Linked DNA regions of Homo sapiens: all the other regions are linked to region 1. The links are contacts of gene promoters, found by promoter capture Hi-C in blood cells and fetal thymus (Javierre and others, 2016). All regions are on one chromosome and are shown on one strand. The core of a region is centred on a gene start or on the middle of the fragment in contact, and the rest is flanking DNA. Distances in the headings are between cores, read along the strand shown. Region 1 holds the start of EMILIN2 (elastin microfibril interfacer 2). Region 2 overlaps DLGAP1 (DLG associated protein 1). Region 3 overlaps DLGAP1 (DLG associated protein 1). Region 4 overlaps DLGAP1 (DLG associated protein 1). Region 5 overlaps GAPLINC (gastric adenocarcinoma associated, positive CD44 regulator, long intergenic non-coding RNA). Region 6 overlaps TGIF1 (TGFB induced factor homeobox 1).

What was found. The method cuts DNA at HindIII sites, captures the fragments that hold promoters and counts their contacts. A CHiCAGO score of 5 or more calls a contact.
Region 2: a fragment that was not itself captured here is called in contact with the fragment with the promoter of EMILIN2 in region 1 in 4 of 17 cell types (monocytes, M2 macrophages, M0 macrophages and 1 more); the score reaches 7.6 in monocytes.
Region 3: a contact is called between a fragment that was not itself captured here and the fragment with the promoter of EMILIN2 in region 1, in 2 of 17 cell types (M0 macrophages and M2 macrophages). The highest score is 6.6, in M0 macrophages.
Region 4: a fragment that was not itself captured here is called in contact with the fragment with the promoter of EMILIN2 in region 1 in 1 of 17 cell types (M0 macrophages); the score reaches 5.5 in M0 macrophages.
Region 5: a fragment that was not itself captured here is called in contact with the fragment with the promoter of EMILIN2 in region 1 in 1 of 17 cell types (M0 macrophages); the score reaches 5.4 in M0 macrophages.
Region 6: a fragment that was not itself captured here is called in contact with the fragment with the promoter of EMILIN2 in region 1 in 3 of 17 cell types (M0 macrophages, M1 macrophages and monocytes); the score reaches 6.2 in M0 macrophages.

Annotation. Positions count from the first base shown.
Region 1 is chr18:2,845,544-2,848,659 of GRCh38, forward strand. It overlaps EMILIN2 (elastin microfibril interfacer 2), which reads left to right and starts at 1,463. Exons shown (of 8, transcript NM_032048.3): 1 at 1,463-1,779; 2 at 2,266-2,388. The coding sequence starts at 1,646. RefSeq lists silencers at 1,681-1,730, 2,351-2,440. The HindIII fragment of the contact is 11,570 bases long and covers 419-3,116 here.
Region 2 is chr18:3,746,028-3,749,143 of GRCh38, forward strand. The region is part of intron 5 of DLGAP1 (DLG associated protein 1); the gene reads right to left. Among named protein-coding and RNA genes, the nearest start is that of DLGAP1-AS6, 95 kb to the left of the region's middle. The HindIII fragment of the contact is 1,380 bases long and covers 861-2,240 here.
Region 3 is chr18:3,628,886-3,632,001 of GRCh38, forward strand. All of the region lies in intron 7 of DLGAP1 (DLG associated protein 1), which reads right to left. Among named protein-coding and RNA genes, the nearest start is that of DLGAP1-AS6, 23 kb to the right of the region's middle. The HindIII fragment of the contact is 716 bases long and covers 1,067-1,782 here.
Region 4 is chr18:3,606,636-3,609,751 of GRCh38, forward strand. All of the region lies in intron 7 of DLGAP1 (DLG associated protein 1), which reads right to left. It overlaps DLGAP1-AS2 (DLGAP1 antisense RNA 2), which reads left to right. Exons shown (of 3, transcript NR_119377.1): 2 at 1-5; 3 at 3,098-3,116. Among named protein-coding and RNA genes, the nearest start is that of DLGAP1-AS2, 4.5 kb to the left of the region's middle. The HindIII fragment of the contact is 5,854 bases long and covers 1-3,116 here.
Region 5 is chr18:3,468,233-3,471,348 of GRCh38, forward strand. All of the region lies in intron 2 of GAPLINC (gastric adenocarcinoma associated, positive CD44 regulator, long intergenic non-coding RNA), which reads left to right. The region is part of intron 2 of LOC105371965 (a long non-coding RNA gene); the gene reads right to left. Among named protein-coding and RNA genes, the nearest start is that of GAPLINC, 3.5 kb to the left of the region's middle. RefSeq lists an enhancer at 906-1,696. The HindIII fragment of the contact is 7,022 bases long and covers 1-3,116 here.
Region 6 is chr18:3,452,083-3,455,198 of GRCh38, forward strand. The region is part of intron 1 of TGIF1 (TGFB induced factor homeobox 1); the gene reads left to right. Among named protein-coding and RNA genes, the nearest start is that of TGIF1, 3.5 kb to the left of the region's middle. RefSeq lists enhancers at 1-28, 29-650, 651-1,270. The HindIII fragment of the contact is 952 bases long and covers 775-1,726 here.

The sequences.
Region 1 (3,116 bases), core at 213-2,712:
TCATCTGCAAATCAAAAGGTCCAACAACACCATCAAAGAATATTAGAAACAAAATAGACCAATGGCTTCATTTAGTAAAGTAGGAACATAGCAAACGTTTTTATTTTTTATTTTTTGCGACAGATTTTCACTCTTTTTGCCCAGGCTGGAGTGCAGTGGTGAGATCCCGGCTCACTGCAACCTCCATCTCTCTGGTTCAAGCGATTCTCCTGCCTCAGCCTCCCAAGTAGCTGGGATTACAGGCATGTGCCACCGTGCCCGGCAAATTTTTTTTTTTTTTTTGTACTTTTAGTAGAGACGGGGTTTCTCCATGTTGGTCAGGCTGGTCTTGAACTCCCGACGTCAGGTGATCCACCCGCCTCGACCTCCCAAAGTGCTGGGATTACAGGCGTGAGCCACCCCGCCTGGCCCATAGCAAAGCTTTATTCACTTAACGAGTCATGGCCAACAGCGTCTGGTTAGCTCACAGAGGCCACAGTTTTATCTGTGGAGTCTGGTAACCACGCCACTCACGACCCTGTACATTGATTAGATGCAGCAGGTCATCTCAAACACACAGCTCTCTCCAACACCCCTTAGAATACAACACTTGGGTGGTGATTTTACTTAACATTCTGGTACTTCATCCCAAAAAGACATCGGTAGAGATTAGTGTAACTCAACAACAGGCAGAAAACATACAAGAAAGTTTAAGACGGATGTCTAGCAGTGCCTGAACTGTTAAGAAGCAAACGTGAGTAAATGCCTTAGTTTCAATAGAAAAAGAAAGTTCACAGTGGGACCTCAGAAGCAGAGGCTGTGAGATCACCTTTCAAGAATTGGAGGAGAATTGCAGTAAGTGATAGAGCCGGACGCTGAGCTGCAGCAGCCTCTGGGAATTGGCGGGGCTGTGGCTTGTCCTGTCCTGCCGCCCCCCGCGTGGCCTCGGAAACTGTCAGATGGTGCCTAAGGCAGAGTTGGGCAAAGAAAGAACCAGCGTTCGTTTCCTCCTGGACTCTCTAGGTCCATGGAGCTGGTGGGGGAACGGCCCTGTCTTGCCCGAGGAGGAAATTCGAGTCGAGCCCCCACTCCTCTCCCCGCGGGACTGATAAACATGTCCCTCATTCGCCCCGGGAGGCTGGCACCCAGGCACGACGCGAGGACGGCCAGACTCGCCGACGGCGGCCGCGTCCCGGGGGGCCGGGAGCGAGCCTGTCGGAAGGTGGGAGGCGGAGTCGCTCGGCATCTGGGAAGAGACCAAAGGAATGAGTCATTGGAAATGCTGTAACGTAGACCCTTATCCCAAACCCTTTCGCCCCTCCACCCCGAGCCCCCTGCCGAGAAGCGAAGGGACTGGAGACGGGGAGACTTGGTGGGGGGAGAGTCACGTTTCGGAGAGGGAAGTGAAATAAAGAGGGCGGCACCCGGGGGGACCTGTGCGTCATTGAGGGACCGGGGAGAAGCGCAGGGCGCACGGGGCTGCAGAAGGAGAAGTAGGAACGAGAAGCCGGAGGGGGCGGCCGCGGAGCACTGGTTGGAGCGCCGCGAAGCGCCCGAGCCTCTTGCCTTCGCGGGCGGCGCCCTGGCCGCCGGCAGCCTTGTGGCCGGTGCCCCGATCCGCCGCGCTCCGGACCCGGGCAGGCGGGGCGCGCCCGCTGCGCGCGGGATGTGGCAGCCCAGACGGCCCTGGCCCCGCGTGCCCTGGCGCTGGGCGCTGGCGCTGCTGGCCCTGGTTGGCGCGGGGCTGTGCCACGCCGGCCCGCAGCCCGGGTATCCCGCGCGGCCCAGCGCCAGGAACAAGTAAGTGCGCGCCCCTTGGCTGGCCCCAAACCGCCTACCCCTCCCCGGCCCCCAGTTGAGCCCCAGAGCTGCCCTGCCAAAGACGACGAGCGGCAGCCGGGGGCCTCCCTTGGACTTCCCCGGGCGGCTCCCTCTGCGGGGGACCGCGCGCTCCGCAGCCGGCGCCTCAGGCAGAGCTGACTCCGGGGGCGTGGGCGCAGAGAGCGTCCCGCAGACCCGGGCGATCCGAAAACGACTCCCAGGAATTCCATGAGCCCCTGGGACCATGGGTGCTTTTCTTTCCCGTCTTGGTCGGGTCCAGGCGCGCGCTCTCCAGAGGCGCACCCGGGCACCCTCCGGCGTCTGCTCGGTGAAGCTCCCGCCTCCGCAGAGGGCGACGGGCCCCCCCGACCCTCGCTCGGTCTGGTGCCGCAGTCCCCTCTCCCCTGGCCTCATTGTTCTCCGGGTTTACCCCGTGCCCCTCTCCCTCTCTCTCCTGCACCCCAGGAACTGGTGCGCCTACATCGTGAACAAGAATGTGAGCTGCTCCGTGCTGGAGGGAAGTGAGAGTTTTATTCAGGCTCAGTACAACTGTGCCTGGAACCAGATGCCCTGTCCGTCGGCGCTGGTGTAAGTCCTGGAGCCGGGGAGCGGGCGGGGCGCGCCCGGGCCGGGGCGGTGGGGGTGGGGTGGGGTTGCTGCGCTGGGCTCCAGTCCCTCCGGTAAATCCCTTCCAGATCCGGTGAAAAGCCCGCAGCGGAAAAGCGCTCCGAGCGCTCGCGGGGCACCGGCCACGCTGGGCTATTTAGGGAGTGGGTGCTGCCCGAGTGAGTGGGGAGGATGCGCGCGCCTCGGGAGTGTGGGGTCGCGGGGGCGTAGGAGAGGATGAACAAAGCTCCCACTCCCACTTCTGTTTTCTCCCTTTCAATGTTTGTTTGTAACATAAGGCAGCTGAATCTAATTGGATCCATATTGTGTGTTCTGGGGCACACAGAAGATTCCAAAATGTATACTGCTAAAGACTATTCCGTATAGGATTCGCTGAGAGGTTTGGCTAAGTAGTGTTCTAAAACGAGTGAGTTCTGTCCGTATGTCCCCATAAAACGGAATCTTCCAGTTTTGTAGATGTCTAAGCTAAAACCTCAGGAACACTTTGCTTAAAAGTGTGGCTCCCCAGCATCCCTCCCCGCAACTTAGATTTGGAGATTCTCTAGAGATTGTGGGAGAGAATGGCCGTTAAAGACAGGGGGAAGAATTAATCATCTTTTTGCTTATAAAGATTTCCCCATCTTAAAAAAAAAAAAAAACAGGAAGCAATGCAATAAAGTACAAATGCCGTTAAATACATGACACTCATT
Region 2 (3,116 bases), core at 301-2,800, 900 kb after region 1:
TGTTAGTAAAGGAACTGACAAAGCAGTAGAATGAAATAAGGACTCCAGAAACAGAACTAAGTATGTGTTTGAATATAATATATTGCAAACGTGGCAGTTGGAATAGGCAAGGAAAAGATCAAGTATTTAATAATGGAGTTAGACCTTTTTTGCCTCCACTTGGGGAAAAATGAATTCCTACTAAGCATATAGATGAAAAATAATATTTTAAAAACTTAAAGTTCTCCAATACAATATAGATTATATTTTATAATCTCAATTTCTATACTTAAACAATTTAAAGAGAAATTTATCAATGTTTTATGAATAAAAAAACCTATAAAGCCTTATGGAAGGCAATAAAGAAGGCCTAAAGAAATGCAAAGGAATATGGTAGAGAAAGACTTTAGAAGCATCGTGGTAAACTTAGATGCCATAAAGAGAAAGGTTAATGAATGGAAGTACATGAAAATTTAAAACTTTTGTTCAGCCAAAGATCCTGTCAACAATGTTAAGAAAAATAGTCATTGTGTATAAGAACATATTTGCAACACTAAGCAGCAAAAAGGGTTCACATGCATAATATTTAAATTATGAATAAAAATAATGAAACCAACACAATAAAAAATGGTCAAAGCCTATAAAGAGGGAATCATAAGAAAATAAATATATAAATTCACAGGAAAGTAACTTTATATATCACCAAGCATATGACAAAATGCTCGATCTCACTAGTAATTAGAGAAATGTGGATTTTAAAAAACATACATTTACACATTACATTCATGTACATCCATCTTGATGTCCTCAAATTGTAAAGATATTCCCTATATTCTAAGTGTCCTCTTAGTAGCATTGTGTACGATTGCATCTATTCTTAAAGCTTGTATGGAATTACTTAATATATAACAGCCAAAAACTATTCTTAATAATACTAAACCCTGAGAATGTGATAAGCAACCACTTTTTGCAGCTGCACTGAGGGAGAAACCAAATTAAGACAGATCTAGAATATAACATCGAAAGTAAATCTCTTATTGCATTTTACTGTTACAAAAGATAAACTAGGCTGGGTGCAGTGTGGCTCACACCTGTAATCCTAGCACTTTGGGAGGTCTACGTGGAAGGAACTCTTGAGCCCAGACCAGCCTGGGCTACATAGTGAGGCCCTGTCTGTATTTTTTAATATAAAAAAGTAAAAGAAAAAAATTGTTCTAGAAATGTGCCCTATGGATCCTTCAAGTAGTGGTCAAACATGAAAATAGTTTGCCAGGTCAAGGTAATATTTTCCATGTGTTACGTGCTATTATGGTGATTCCAGCTGCATCGCTTTATAATACCAATGCCAAAAATTTCAACCAACAAACAAACTGAAAAATTCGTTTTCCTTTTAAGATCTTTTTTAGAAAAAGAGAATCGTAGCTGGAAGCATTTATAACCTAAAGTTCACTTCTCTTTAGAACTTGCGCATTAGATGACAAATGTGTTTCTTTGACTATTTTGCAACCTGACCCAGAGCAATGATATTGCCAACATAAATGATGATGCCATTCCAAATGTTATCAGGGCAGTGACGGGAGTGGCTGTTTCATAAATGGTGTATATTCAAAGAAGAAGTGAAAGTCCGGCGTTTTGAAAAATGAGCGTCTGCTGGCTGAATGGGGAAATGAGGCATCATTGCAACAATCATTCACTCTGGCCACTCGTTATGAAATAAGGCACAATTCCCAAATTTCAAAGTGAAACATCATTCAGAAGGAATTGAATAGTTCTTCTCTGGTGAGTCATTCCTGATAAAACAATGCATACATTAATAACACACAAAATATAAGGAAATGAACTGTTTTATCTTGCCCACTTATAGAACAGAGCCCTCCGCTATCAATATAAAGGTTACTATATGCCCATGTGCTCCGGATGCAGAAACGCTCATTAAATAAACACCAAAATAGTGCATCGATGACTTTGTCTTTACCTCAAAAGAAAGTTGATCTGCTCAGAAGAAAGACAGTGTGCATATTCAGAAACATTAACTCTCTCATGTTACGTTAATTATTTCCAATGTTGGTCTAACGAAATGGCACTCTTCTTTTTCCATCCTTCTCCCTAAATTACTTATGCTAAGTTAACTTTTCCTAGCTTATCAGAACTAAAGGGAGATTTTGATTTTTTGGGCTGGGAGGTCCCATTCATTATCATGACTTTAAAGTACAACCAATAATGGGAAGTTCTTAGGTGACAGTGAGCCAACCACACAAACAAGCTTGACCCTTTGTATCCGGAAGGCTGCCATTGCGAAGAAGAGCGTGTACAGTAATCATCAGACCACAAAGTTTTAAACCAGTGTCTCAAAAGACAAAATGACTAACTTTGCAACATATTACTGGAAATAACTTCAGATGGCTGGGATGCTTTTTCCCCCAAAGAAGGAAATGCTTCCAGGTTATGGAGTCTAATGGGAGAATCTTTGGAGGTGATGGACCATCTTATGGAGCCATCTGCACCCTAAGTTTTGTTCATTTTCACGTTGTCTTCTCTCTGACTTACAAAAGTATTGGAATGTAAGGCTCTTCCATGGGACCCAGAGGAAACATTTTATGGCCTCAGGAGGTTAATCTAACTTCATTGTATTTCAAAAATGAACGTATTTGGCCTTGGTCATGACACTTTTATCAAATCATACTCATAAACATTAATGGCTTAAACTGAGAGGCTTTGATCCCTTGGGCTTTGGTGTGGACAATGGTACTTAGTAGGTGACAGTTCTCTGTTGAACTAGTTTCAGGGAATCAAACACAGGGCATTTTAGTAGTCAATCTGCTTTGGTAAAACGAAGCCTTTCTTTTCAGTAACCTTACCTATAATGGCTTTATAATCCGTATAGAAATGTAACTTTCATTAAAGTTGTTTACTTTTGTAGTTGCCTCTTGAGTTATTTCTACTTTATAATAATACCTGACATTTGTTACCATTTATCCAATGCCTGGCTACTGTTAGATAAAGAAATCATGACTTTGAGAGATCACATAGTGTTGAAGGTAATTCCAATGGAAACTTGGCCTTTTAACTTCCACATTCCTATTCTGTCTTCTCCTTCTCCTTCTCCTCCTCCTCCTCTTCCTCCTCCTCCTTCTTCT
Region 3 (3,116 bases), core at 175-2,674, 780 kb after region 1:
TACTATAGATGGATATTTAGGGTTTTTTTGGTATTTGAACAATGCCACCATGAATATTCCTGTCCTGTATTTGGCACACAAGTAAAAGACTTTTCTAGAAAATGTTCGGGTTGTTTGCTATGAGTTTCTTCATAATGTCAAATAATATTTTTAAAAATGTGGATATTGTCCCAACATACACTCCCATAACAGTGCATGAGAATTCCTATTGCTGCTGCATATCTTTGCCAACATTTGATATTGTTACACTTTATAATTTTTTGTGGCCAGGCACAGTGGCTCACACCTACAATCCCAGCACTTTGGGAGGCCAAGACAGGAGTTTGAGACTAGCCTGGGTAACACAGCAAGACGCCATCTCTAAAAAAATAAATAGCTGAGGTGGGAGGATCACTTGAACCTGGGAGGTTGAGGCTGCAATGAGCCATGATTGTGGCACTGCACTCCAGCTTGAGTGACAAAGTGAGGCTCTGTCTACAAACAAATAAATAAAAATAAAAAATAGGCTGGGCGCGGTGGCTCAACCCTGTAATCCCAGCACTTTGGGAGGCTGAGGCGGGCGGATCACGAGGTCAGGAGATCGAGACCATCCTGGCTAACACGCTGAAACCCTGTCTCTACTAAAAATACAAAAAAATTAGCCGGGCGTGTTGGTGGGCGCCTGTAGTCCCAGCTACTCGGGAGGCTGAGGCAGGAGAATGGCGTGAACCCGGGAGGCGGAGCTTGCAGTGAGCCGAGATCGCGCCACCGCACTCCAGCCTGGGCAACAGAGTGAGACTCTGTCTCAAAAAATAAATAAATAAATAAATAAAAATAAATAAAAAATAATGAAATAATTTTTTGCTAACCTGGTAGGTGTGTATTGGTATCTCACTGTGGATTTAATTTACTTATTTTGGATTCCTAATGAGATGAGCACTTTTTGCAGGTTTTGATATTTCGATGTCCCTTTCTTGTGAAGGGCAAAGTTTGAACACAATAGGCAAATGTAGCAATCTTTTTAAAAATTTTCATGCTCTTCATATTTTATTTCAGAAACTTCCCCTACCCCCATATCATTTTGGGAAGCTTTATTGTTTGGCCTTTCACATTTAGGTCTTAAATTCAACTAGAATTGCTTAGGAGGGCTGGAGTATAAAGTTGTAATGGTTAATTTTATGTGTCAACTTGACTGGGCCATGTGGTACCCAGACATTTGGCCAAATATTATTCTGTGTGTGTCTGTGATGGTGCTTCCAAGTGAGAGTATTACATTGGAATCAGTAGACTGAGTACAGCAGATTGCTCTCCCCAGTGTGGTTGGGCCTCATTCAATCAATTGAAGACCGGAATAGAATAAAAAGACTGAATATGAGAGAATTTCTCCTGTCCGACTGGTTAAGTTGGGGCATCGGTTTTTTCCAGCCTTCAGACTTGGCCTGAAACATTGGTCCTCCTTGGGTTGTGAGCCTGCAGGTCCTCAGACTGAAACTATCCATCAGCTCTCCTGGTTCTCAGGCTCCTGGATTCAAGCTGGAAGTACACATCAGGTCTCCTGGGTCCTCAGCTTGATGACTCGAGATCTTGGGAATTCTCGGCCTCTATAACTGTGTGCCCCAATTCCCTATAATAAATCTTTGTCTTTCTCTCTCTCCTGTTGTCTCTGTGTCTCTGAAGAACCCTGGCTAATACAAAGGTATAGTCCAATTTTATTTTATTTTTTTTCCAAATAAATACTCCTCAGTGACAGCACCATCTACTGAATATTGTCCCTTCCCCACTGAATTGCAAAGATGCCTCTCAAGCTTCCATATGAGCACGGGACTATTTCTGTAATCTGTAGTCTGTTCTGTTGGGCTACTGCCCTGTCCTTGTGCTAACACCATGTCTTATTACTATAGGCTAATTATGAATCTTGATGCTCAATAGGGCAAATCCTCTAATTTTGCTGCTTTTCAAGAGTATCTTGGCTGTATGTGGCACTTTGCAAAAACTAAAACACAACAACAACAACAAAATTCAGGTTTTTGGTTGATATTGCATTAAATTTATAGATCAGTTTTAAGTGAATTGACACCTTTCTAATTTGCAGTTTTGAATCTTTTTATTTATTTTTTATTTTTATTTTTTTTATGAGACTGAGTCTCCTTCTGTCGCCCAGGCTGGGGTGCAGTGGTGCAATTTCGGCTCATTGCATCCTCTGCCTGCTGGGTTCAAGCAATTCTCCTGTCTCAGCCTCCCAAGTAGCTGGGACTACAGGCATGTGCCAGCACGCCCAGTTAATTTTTTTTTTTTTTTAAGTAGAGATGGGGTTTCACCATGTTGGTCAGGCTAGCCTTGAACTCCTGACCTCAGGTGATCTGCCCACCTTGGCCTTCCAAAGTGCTGGCATTACAGGTGTGAGCCACCGTGCCTGGCTGACTCTTTTTATATGACTTTAGGAGTTAGTCTAGAAATTCTAATCCACATATTTAACTTACTAATATCTAGACTTAATACCCTTAACCTTTTCTTAGAAAATACAAGGTACTTAAAACACTTTAACTCCTGACTTCTACTGGGTTATATGTATTTTTAATTCTGTCTTTTAAAAAATATTCTGGACAGTTGTGGTGGCTCATGTCTGTAATCTTTGCACTTTGGGAAGCTGAGGCAGGAGGATCACTTGAGCTCCGAGTTCAAGACCAGCCTGGGCAACATAGTGAGACCTTGACTCTACAAATAGTAAAAATATTAGCTAGGCATGGTGGCGTGTGCCTATAGTCCCAGCTACTCGAGAGGCTGAGGCAGGAGAATTGCTTGAGCCTGAGAGGTAGAAACTGCAGTAAGCCGTGATTGCACCACTGTACTCCAGCCTGGGCAACAAAGCAAGATCCTGTCTCAAATAAGTAAATAAATTAAATAAAATTCACAAGATGTAATTTGTTATTTTTATTTTATTTTTTCAAGACGAGGTCTCGCTCTGTGGAGTGCAAATGGCGAGATCATAGTTCATTGCAACCTCGACCTCCCAGGCTCAAGCGATCATCTTATCTCAGCCTTCTGAGTAGCTGAGACCACAGGTGTGTGCCACCACACCGAATTTTCTTATTTTTTGTAGAGGCAAGTTCTCCGTTGCCCAAGCTGGCCTCCAACTC
Region 4 (3,116 bases), core at 577-3,076, 760 kb after region 1:
ACTATGTATGTGAGCTCCCAGCTTTGACATCAAGTCGTTACAGCCACGTAATGGGATTACGGGTGATTTTTACTTTATTCTTTGGGCTTCTCTGAATTTTCCTATATTTTGAAAAAGCACCTGCATTATTTTGTAATTATAAAAAAGTATAAATAAGAATTATACACACTATTATTTCTTCACTGCTATGACATGACTAGATTACAATTTTTTTCTTTTTGAGATGACTTTCGGTCTTGTTTCCCAGGCTGGAGTGCAGTGGCACGACCTCGGCTCATTGCAACCTCCACCTCCCGGGTTCAAGCAATTCTCCTGCCTCAGCCTCCCCAGTAGCTGGGATTACAGGCACCTGCCACCACACCTGGCTAATTTTAGTAGAGAAGGGGTTTCGCCAAGCTGGCCAGGCTGGTCTCGAACTCCTGACTTCAGGTGATTGATCCACCTGCCTCGGCCTCCCAGAGTGCTGGGATTAGAGGCATGAGCCATCGCGCCTGGCCTAGATTATGGAATTTTTGTATTACCATGTATGTTGCCGTGTAATTTTTGTTTTGAACCTTTTTTATTTTTCTTTTAATTCCTTTGAGACAGGATCTTGTTCTGTTACCCAGGCTCACTGCAACAAGGTGATTTTCCCGCCTCAGCCTCCAGAGTAGCTGGACTACAGGCCGGTGCCACCACACCCAGATAATATTTTATATTTTTTGTAGAAATGGGGTTTTGTTTTGTTGCCCAGGCTGGTCTTGAGCTCCTGGGCTCAAGCGATCCACCCTCCTCAGCCTCCCAAAATACTGGGATTACAGGCATAAGCCACTGCACCCGGCCTTGAGCATTTGTTTTTTGAAGGAAATTTTATATGATTACCACATAAAAAAGGAATACTAAAAATCTAACATTATTTGATATCTCACTGTCTTTGAAAACTTAAGGAACATGGACCCATACAAGGCAGCCAAATATTGGCCGGTAACTCCTTTACAACTGGGCTGCAGCATATTTTATTACCTTCTCCTGACAATTTCTTATCTGGCTGCTTATCATTTCCAGAACATACCATCCTTTTGCATGCCTTTACGCCAGTGGCAAACATGGTTGTTTGCCTCCTCATAACCATTCTCTCTATCCTGCTTGCTAATGAGACCCCAGTACTGTTGATCTTTTCCACACAGCTGTGAGTTTTAGGGGTGGCTAAGCCCCTCCCTACACGTGGAGGCTGAATCTTCACCAGACTACCAGACAAAGAGATGAGAAGGGAGGTTGGATGGGAATGTTCTGGGAAAGTTTACCTCACTATTTAAAGCCACCCAAGTCAGGGACATCCTTTTTCTTCCTCTGGACTTTGTCATCTGCAAGGGATGCTGGAACTGTGGCTGCCATCGGGGGACCACAGAAAGTACTGGCCTAAGAAGACCAGCTCAGCTGGGCGTGGTGGCCTGTAATCCCAGCATTTTGGGAGGATGCGGGCAGATCATGTGAAGTCGGGAGTTCAAGACCAGCCTGACCAACATGGAGAAGCCCTGTCTCTACTAAAAATACAAAATTAGCCGGGTGTGGTGGCGCATGCCTGTAATTCTAGCTACTGGGGAGGCTGAGGCAGGAGAATTGCCTGAATCCGAGAGGTGGAGGTTACAGTGAGCGGAGAGGGCGCCACTGCACTCCCGTCTGGGCCAATGAGAGTGAAACTCCATCTCAAAAAAAAAAAAAGATGAGCTCACACTGGGGATGACGGGTGGAAGAAAGGCCAGCTGTAATGAACTTGCTGGTTTTGGTAAATTCATTGCCTTACCCTTGGACCTGGTATTGTTTGAGAAAATAAATTATTTTGCCATCTTAGTCACTTTGATTTTATTTTTTAAGTTGTATTTGTTTGCTTATTGATTTGATTGGCTTGGCACTTATGCAGTGACTTTGTAGATGCTGTCTATGTGTTGGGGCTCAGAACATAATGCCCTAAAATATGGTGACTTGGCAATTGAGAAAACTGAAGGAGCAAGAAGGTCACTCACTGTGAGAGCTGGCCACGAGGGAATGCTCTGACCTATCTTTGTCTGAAAGTAGGTCATAAGATGCTCATTCCAGAGAGGTCTCGCTCTATACCCAGAGGCGAAGAAGGAACAGACAGCTCTTGCCCTACTGTCCCCCAGTTGTTTGTTACCGTTAGATAATAAATTTATTCTAGTTGAAATCTGAAATACTCCAAAGTCTGAAACTTTTCATTTTTTTGAGACAGAGTCTTGCTCTGTCACCCAGGCTGGAGTGTAGTGCACGATCTCAGCTCACTGCAACCTCCACCTCCCAGGTTCAATGATCCTCCTGCCTCAGCCTCCCAAGTAGCTGGGATTACAGGCATGTGCCACCACGCCTGGCTAATTTTTATACTTTTAGTAGAGACAGGGTTTCACCATGTTGGCCATGTTGGTCTCAAACTCCTGAACTCAAGTGAGCCTCGGCCTCCCAAAGTGCTGGGATTACAGGCGTGAGCTGCTGCACCCAGCCTGATCTGTAATACTCTCCCTTGCAGTGTCCTCAGCCTCCCAAGTAGCTGGGACTGCAGGTGTGCACCACCACAACCAGCCAATTTTTAAACATTTTTTTGTAGAGATATGGTCTCACTATGTTGCCCAGGCTAGTCTCAAATTCCTGGGCTCAAGTGATCCTCCCACCTTGGCCTCCCAAAGTACTGGGATTTGAGGTGTGATCCACCTCACCCGGGCCTGAGTCTTCCTTTGGAAGGCTGCTGTATCATGTGAAACTTATGTTAAATAAATTTGCTTATTTTTCTGTTACTAATCTGTCTTCTGTGATAGGAGTCTTAGCCATGAACCTAGCGATGGGTGTGGAATAGATATTTCTTCCACACGCTAGAAAAGGCTGTGTCTGCCTGGTGCAAATCCTGACCTGCCAGTTACAAGCTACTTAACTTTACACTATTAAATCATCTTTTCCTGAGTTTCCTCATCTGTTGAGTTAGGATAACAGCACCTATCTCATAGTGTGATGCGGTGAGCGAAGAGGTGAATGTAGGGAAAGGGGATAGAGTGTTCCACTTACCCTGTGACATATAGGAATTAGGTGCTCTTCTTTTTTCTTTCCTTCCTAGATTATGTGATGCAACAAAA
Region 5 (3,116 bases), core at 376-2,875, 620 kb after region 1:
CAGAGTCTTACACTCCCATGTTTGGAATTTTAAAAAATTGATGCATTTTTTACATTGCATTGGGAGATATTTTAGAACCACTGGGGAGCTGGGCGCGGTGACTGACATCTGTAATTCCAGCACTCTAGGAGGCTGATGCTGGTGGATTACTTGAGGTCAGGAGTTCAAGACCAGCCTGGCCAACATAGCGAAACCCTGTCTCTACTAAAAATACAAAAATTAGCCAGGCATGGTATCGCATGCCTGTAGTTCCAGCTACGCATCAGTAGGAGGCTGAGGAATGAGAATCACTTGTACCTGGGAGGCGGAGGTTGCAGCGAGCTGAATTTGTGCCATGGCACTCCAGCCTGCACAACAGTGAGACTTTGTCTCAAAAAAAAAACACTAAGGAAACAGGGGAAAGAGAATTGAACTTCTGTAGCTGCTCAAGTCATTTGGCATCTCTAAATCTGGGCTTCTTCATCTCTCGTTATATAAAAAAACAGATACCTAAATTTCAAGGTTGTTGAGGATTAAATGAGGTAACAATGTAGAACCTCTTTAGAGTTTTAGAGCAAAGCTGATTGACCTACAAATCCATGTTATTGTTGGATCTTAGATGAGCAAATCTACCTGGCTCAGGTTCTGACTCCGGTTTCCACTTGCCGCCTGGGAGGTGACTGTCCCCAAGTCCGCCTCTGAGGTGGTCCTGCTGGGTCCTGGCCTCGCCTATTTCCCACACCTCTCGTCTGCCTTTCTCCAGTTTCTTACAACAGCAGCAGTAAAGTTCCCTTCCCCCGATCCTTAATGCTGTCTTTACTTCTCTCCTATGATGTTATACAAGGAAGTAGTGTGAGGGCTTCAGGCGGGGGCTGTAGGCTGGAGATAGTGGTGGCTGTTGTAGTGCTGATGAGGTCATCATCATCCCTGAAACCAAGCTGCGTGATTTTTTTTTTTACCACTGGCATCATTCCTATAATGCAGAAAACAACACCAGGTCTTTTTTTTTTTTTTTTTTTTTTGAGACCGAGTCTCTCCCTGTCACCCAGGCTGGAGTGCAATGGCGCAATCTCGGCTCACTGCAACCTCCACCTCCTGGGTTCAAGTGATTCTCCTGCCTCAGCCTCCCGAGTAGCTGGGATTACAGGCGTGTGCCACCACGCCCAGCTAATGTTTTGTATCTTTAGTAGAGACGGGGTTTCACCATGTTGGCCAGGCTGGTCTCAAACTCCTGACCTTGTGATCCACCCGCCTCGGCCTCCCAAAGTGCTGGGATTACAGGCGTGAGCCACCGCACCTGGCCCAACACCGGTTCTTTATTACTAAAGGGCTAACCACTCAGAGCCTCCAATTTGCTTTCTCCTTCTCCCTCTGGGCTCACGTAAGTAGAACACTCTGAAGAAGCCTCAATCTGCTTTTTGTGATTTCGATATGCAGTAACCCAAGCTGCCCCCGATACAGAAGGAAGAGAACTGAGCTTAGCTCCAGAAGACCTAACTATGACACTAGGCCAGCATAATACTAGCTGGGTGGCTAGGAGTAAACTAACTTCTTTGAGCTAGTTTTCTTGTCAGTAAAGCATAGAGTTGGATTAGATGATATCTTTAGCCTCTGAAATCTCTAACTTTCTAAGGACATAAATAATACATATAGATCTAGTAACAGTGTAGGCTATTTGAAATCAGTGAAAGTTCCATAAGATACCTCTCATCCTAAGCCTAGGTGAAAGGTTTGCCATAGAAGAAAATGCAAATAAAAAGTTCAGTAGAGGGCATCTCAGAATGATGAAATGATTGGTTTCTTTGGGCAAAACCATCAATAGGGTGATTTGAAACTTTCGGGATGACATTTCTGTCCAGAGAAAAGGACAGTCAGCCAGGCACGGTGGCTTGGCTCATGCCTGCAATCCCAGTACTTTGGGAGGCCAAGACCGATGGATCACTTGATGCTAGGAGTTTGAGACCAGCCTTGCCAACATGATGAAACCCCATCTCTACTAAACATACAAAAATTAGCCAAGCATGGTGGCCTATGCCTGGTGGCCTATGCTTGTAATACCAGCTATTCGGGAGGCCGAGGCAGAAGAATCGCTTGAACCTGGGAGGTAGAGGTTACAGTAAGCTGAGATCGCACCACTGCACTCCAGCCTGGGAGACAGAGTGAGACTCCATCCCAAAAAAAGAAAAAGAAAATAACAGTCTGGTCTAAGGGTTTGTTTTAGTCGAAGTAATAGGAATTGATGTGAAGAGGAAGCATCCCCTGATGCCAGGGCAGATGGTGGAGAGCAGAACACCAGGGTGGTACAGGGCAGAAGAGGGAGGGTGAACAGAAAGGGGTGGAGGAGACAGAGGCAGGAAGAGAGGGGGCATCATGGCCTGGTGGGTGGAGCCAGGCCAGCCCTGCTAAGACCAAGGGTGATGTTCTTCATCGGAAGAAGAAGGTGAGAAGACCTCAGGGAGCCTCAAGGACCTCCAAGGATGGAAAACCTGGCATTGATTAGGAAAATGACTGTGATTGTATCAATGTACACTTAGTTGAGAAGTCAAGGAGCATTTGGAAACTGAGAGAAAAGAGCCTTGTTACTTCAAGGAATAAAAATGTGTAACGTGCAGTCAGGACATAGTGCTTTTAAAACTGAGCTGTCCTTTCAGAGCAGCTGGGCAAGTGTTGGCTTTAATATTAAGCACATTTGGCCAGGCACAGTGGCTCACATCTGTAATCCCAGCACTTTGGGAAGCAGAGGTGGGCAGATCACTTGAGGCCAGGAGTTCGAGACCAGCCTGACCAACATGGTGAAAGCCCGTCTCTACTAAAAATACAAAAATTAGCTGTATGTCGTGATGCGTGCCTGTAATCCCAGCTACTTGGGAGGCTGAGGCAGGATAATCGCTTGAACCCGGGAGGCGGAGGTTGCAATGAGCTGAGATTGTGCCACTGCATTCCAGCCTAGGCAACAGAGCAAGATTCTGTCTCAAAAAATAAAAATAAAAAAATAAAAATTAAGCACATAGGGTAAGTCTTATTTGAGAGAGAGCTGCAGCTATGCAAGGCAGAATACTTTGAGTTCAGGACTGCCTTAGGCAAACGTGGAGAGGGACCAGGTGTGCAGTGAAGCGGGCAGGTATGAGTAGAGGACT
Region 6 (3,116 bases), core at 1-2,500, 610 kb after region 1:
CCGGGAATCCCCAGTGCTCCTTTTCCACGGCTTTTCTGGCGTCCCCCCGACTCTCCCGCGGCACTTTGGCCTACCTTCCCCCAGCGCCGTGGTCCTCCCTGGCGACCCCCTCTGCGCTCCTGGGGTCCTCCTGCGCCCCCCCTCCTCCACCGGCGCGCTGCCCACAGCCGCGTGCCCTCTCCCCGGAGCTGGGGACCAAGGCTGGGCCCCGCCGGCCGCATCGGTGGGAACTTCCGCGGTCCCCATCCCAGGGCGCACAGGGTCCAGCTCCTCGGCGCCGACTCCTGGAAACAATGAAAGGTGACGGGCTGAAGGGGAAACTTTGCGACTGGTTCAGGGCTCTTTGGGGGAGCCGAGGCTGCCGAGGTTACCCGGGTTTCTTTCCCCTTTTAGGTTTCCCTGGCGAGTCGTCTGGGGTGGGCAGGCCTCTGAGAAGGTGGGATTCACGGCCTCATTTCTAGTTTCTTGGGTCCTGGAGTTCCTTTGCTTGTGCTAACTCGTGCAGTGTGCGGGCCGGCCTGTTTCACTTGAGGCCGAGGAACTCTCAAGAACAAAAGCTACTTGCTTTTCCTCCTTGGGCCCCTCCCTCTCCCCGTGCTCCTCCGCCGTCCTCCTCTAAAACTACCTGGGAGGGGGGAGCCTTCCCCGTCGGCTCTGGAAAGACTCCTGAGGAAGTCGGGCCCTCCTTACTGTCTTGTCTTATAAAAGTCTGCAAATCTTTTCAAGTTTTCTTAAAACAAGTGCACTTTCAGCTCCATTCCTGAGCCCGGGGTAAGCTTGGTTTGTGATAATAGTGTGTCCTCCCAGAAAGCTGAGAGTGACGCCAAAAGATCTCCTAAAATGACTTAAAAACAATGAGAAGGATCGATAAGGAAAATCCACTAAGTCTTTTTGCTCCCAGTTTTTAACTGTTGAATTCCTGCTTTGGGATTGCTCTTTGGCTGGGGTAGCCAACCATACCTTGGATTTGGTGGCTTGAGTGTTCAATGCCTGTTGCTTCTCCCAAGGAGATACTGATTTTTTTTTTCTTTTGTTCCTGGAGACCGGGTCTGGCTATGTTGCCCAGGCTGGTCTCGAACTCCTGGGCTCAAGAAATCCTCTCGCCTTGGCCTCCCAAAGTTCTGGGATTACAGGCAAGAGACATTGCTCCCAGCTCAAAGGAGAACTTCTGGTCAGGAAACTTGTTGAGTTAAATTTGCTTTTTCCTAATTGTGCATCTCGACTTTTCCCATCAATCTTATTTCTAGAGTCTCTTCACAACCGGTGTCTCCCTGCCTCCCTGTCTCATGATGTTACCGAGCTATTCAGAAAAGAAAGTGCAGGGCTGGGCGCGGTGGTTCACGCCTGTAATCCCAGCACTTTGGGAGGCCTAGGCGAGCAGATCATCTGAGGTCGGGAGTTCGAGACCAGCCTGACCAACATGGAGAAACCCCGTCTCTCCTAAAAACACAAAATTAGCCGGGCGTGGTGGCTTTTGCCTGTAATCCCAGCTATTCGGGAGGCTGAGGCAAGAGAATCGCTTGAACCCTGGAGGCGGAGGCTGCGGTGAGCCGAGGTTGCGGCATTGCACTCCAGCCTGGGTGACAAGAGCGAAACTCTGTCTCAAAAAAAAAAAAAAAAAAAAAAGAACGTGCAGGAACAAGGTCGCTGCTTAGGGCGGTGGGATCCTCAGGCCATGTTGTGGCTTTCTCCACAACATTTCCTTGTATGTGGATAGCGTGAAAGAAGCTTGTGATCCTGCCCCCACCCTCCCCACCGCCACATTTTTTAAAGTGTAAGCAAAGCAAGACGTTTGGAAACAAGTCTTAACCGGGAAACTTTTCAAAAGCGCTGTTACAATAGGAAATGAGTAAGGAGGAAAAAAGTCTTTGTTTTTCCAAGCTGAGCCACAACTAGGAGGGAGAGTTTTAATGAAAACAGTCCTGACAGCAGCAAACGTGGTTTTACTGCAGTGAAATATCAGCTGGCGTAGCCAAGGCACTGAAGTCTTAACTTCCTGTTACTTCAGCTTTTGTGCACATATTGGAAATATTTGTTAAGAGTTCCAGAGGTCTGGCATTCATTTATTTAAATGAACTGAGAACAGAGTAAAGTCGCGCTGCAGTTTGGTGTTGCTTAACTGAAACCTGCTTTTGTGTGTCACTAACCTATTCTGAAAGATCAGGCTTCTTGTCAAACTAGGCAAGCAGATCAAAGGGCAGCCTTCAGGGGCTTTTTTTGTTTCAAACTCTTTGTGATTACCAACTTACAGTTGGGAATTCACTGTTCAATGAGCAAATTTTCACACTTTTTCTAGATTAAAAAAAGGAAGGAGATAATAGCCTTGAGAAGAATGTCTGGCTTTTCAGACGTTGGAGAGTTTAAACAAATTGCTTTATTCAAATTTGCTTTAGTCATTTAATTAACTTAACACTTTTTTTAAAAGTTCGATTTCTTTAATTATTAAAGCCAATGTGAGACAGGAACTCAGCTATAATTTCTTTAAGCTATTTTATTAATAGTTCTTCACCCAAATTTCAATATAGGTTTTGAAAGTCTCATCTTGCCAATAGTGAAAGTAGTTTCAGTTTTAAATGGGCACTTTTAAAAACCTTTTTAAAAACTTAAATCATCAGGGGAGGGGAATTTCAAATACATGGCAGTTAAAACTTAGGATTCTTGTGCAGTTTATTTGTAGCTGTTTGTTAAGCTGTGAGCTAAAGTGAATTTGCAAGATCATCCACCTCTTTGTTAGAACTTTACTTTGTCTTTGGAGAGTTCTGCCTTTTGTAGGAATACCCTGCAGCACCTTCTGCCCCCTGCAGTCCAAAACTAAAAATGTGTCACCAAGTCAGAGTCATTAAAAGGGTGGGAAAAATTCCTTTAAAAAACACGGTGTTTAGCTTAAGAGGAATATTCCGTGTTTATTTCCTGTCAAGGGGAACTGGCTCAATTAAGGTCAAGTCATATTTTCAACCAAAATTACATACTACAGAGGAAAGAAAGCATACAAAGCTAAAAATGCTTACCTTTACATTTTTGTTATTTTAATTACTTCCCCTAATATAGAAGTACTGATTTTTTTCAAGCATGCCATTGTTTGTAATTCATTTCTGTTTTTAAGATTCTAGATTGTC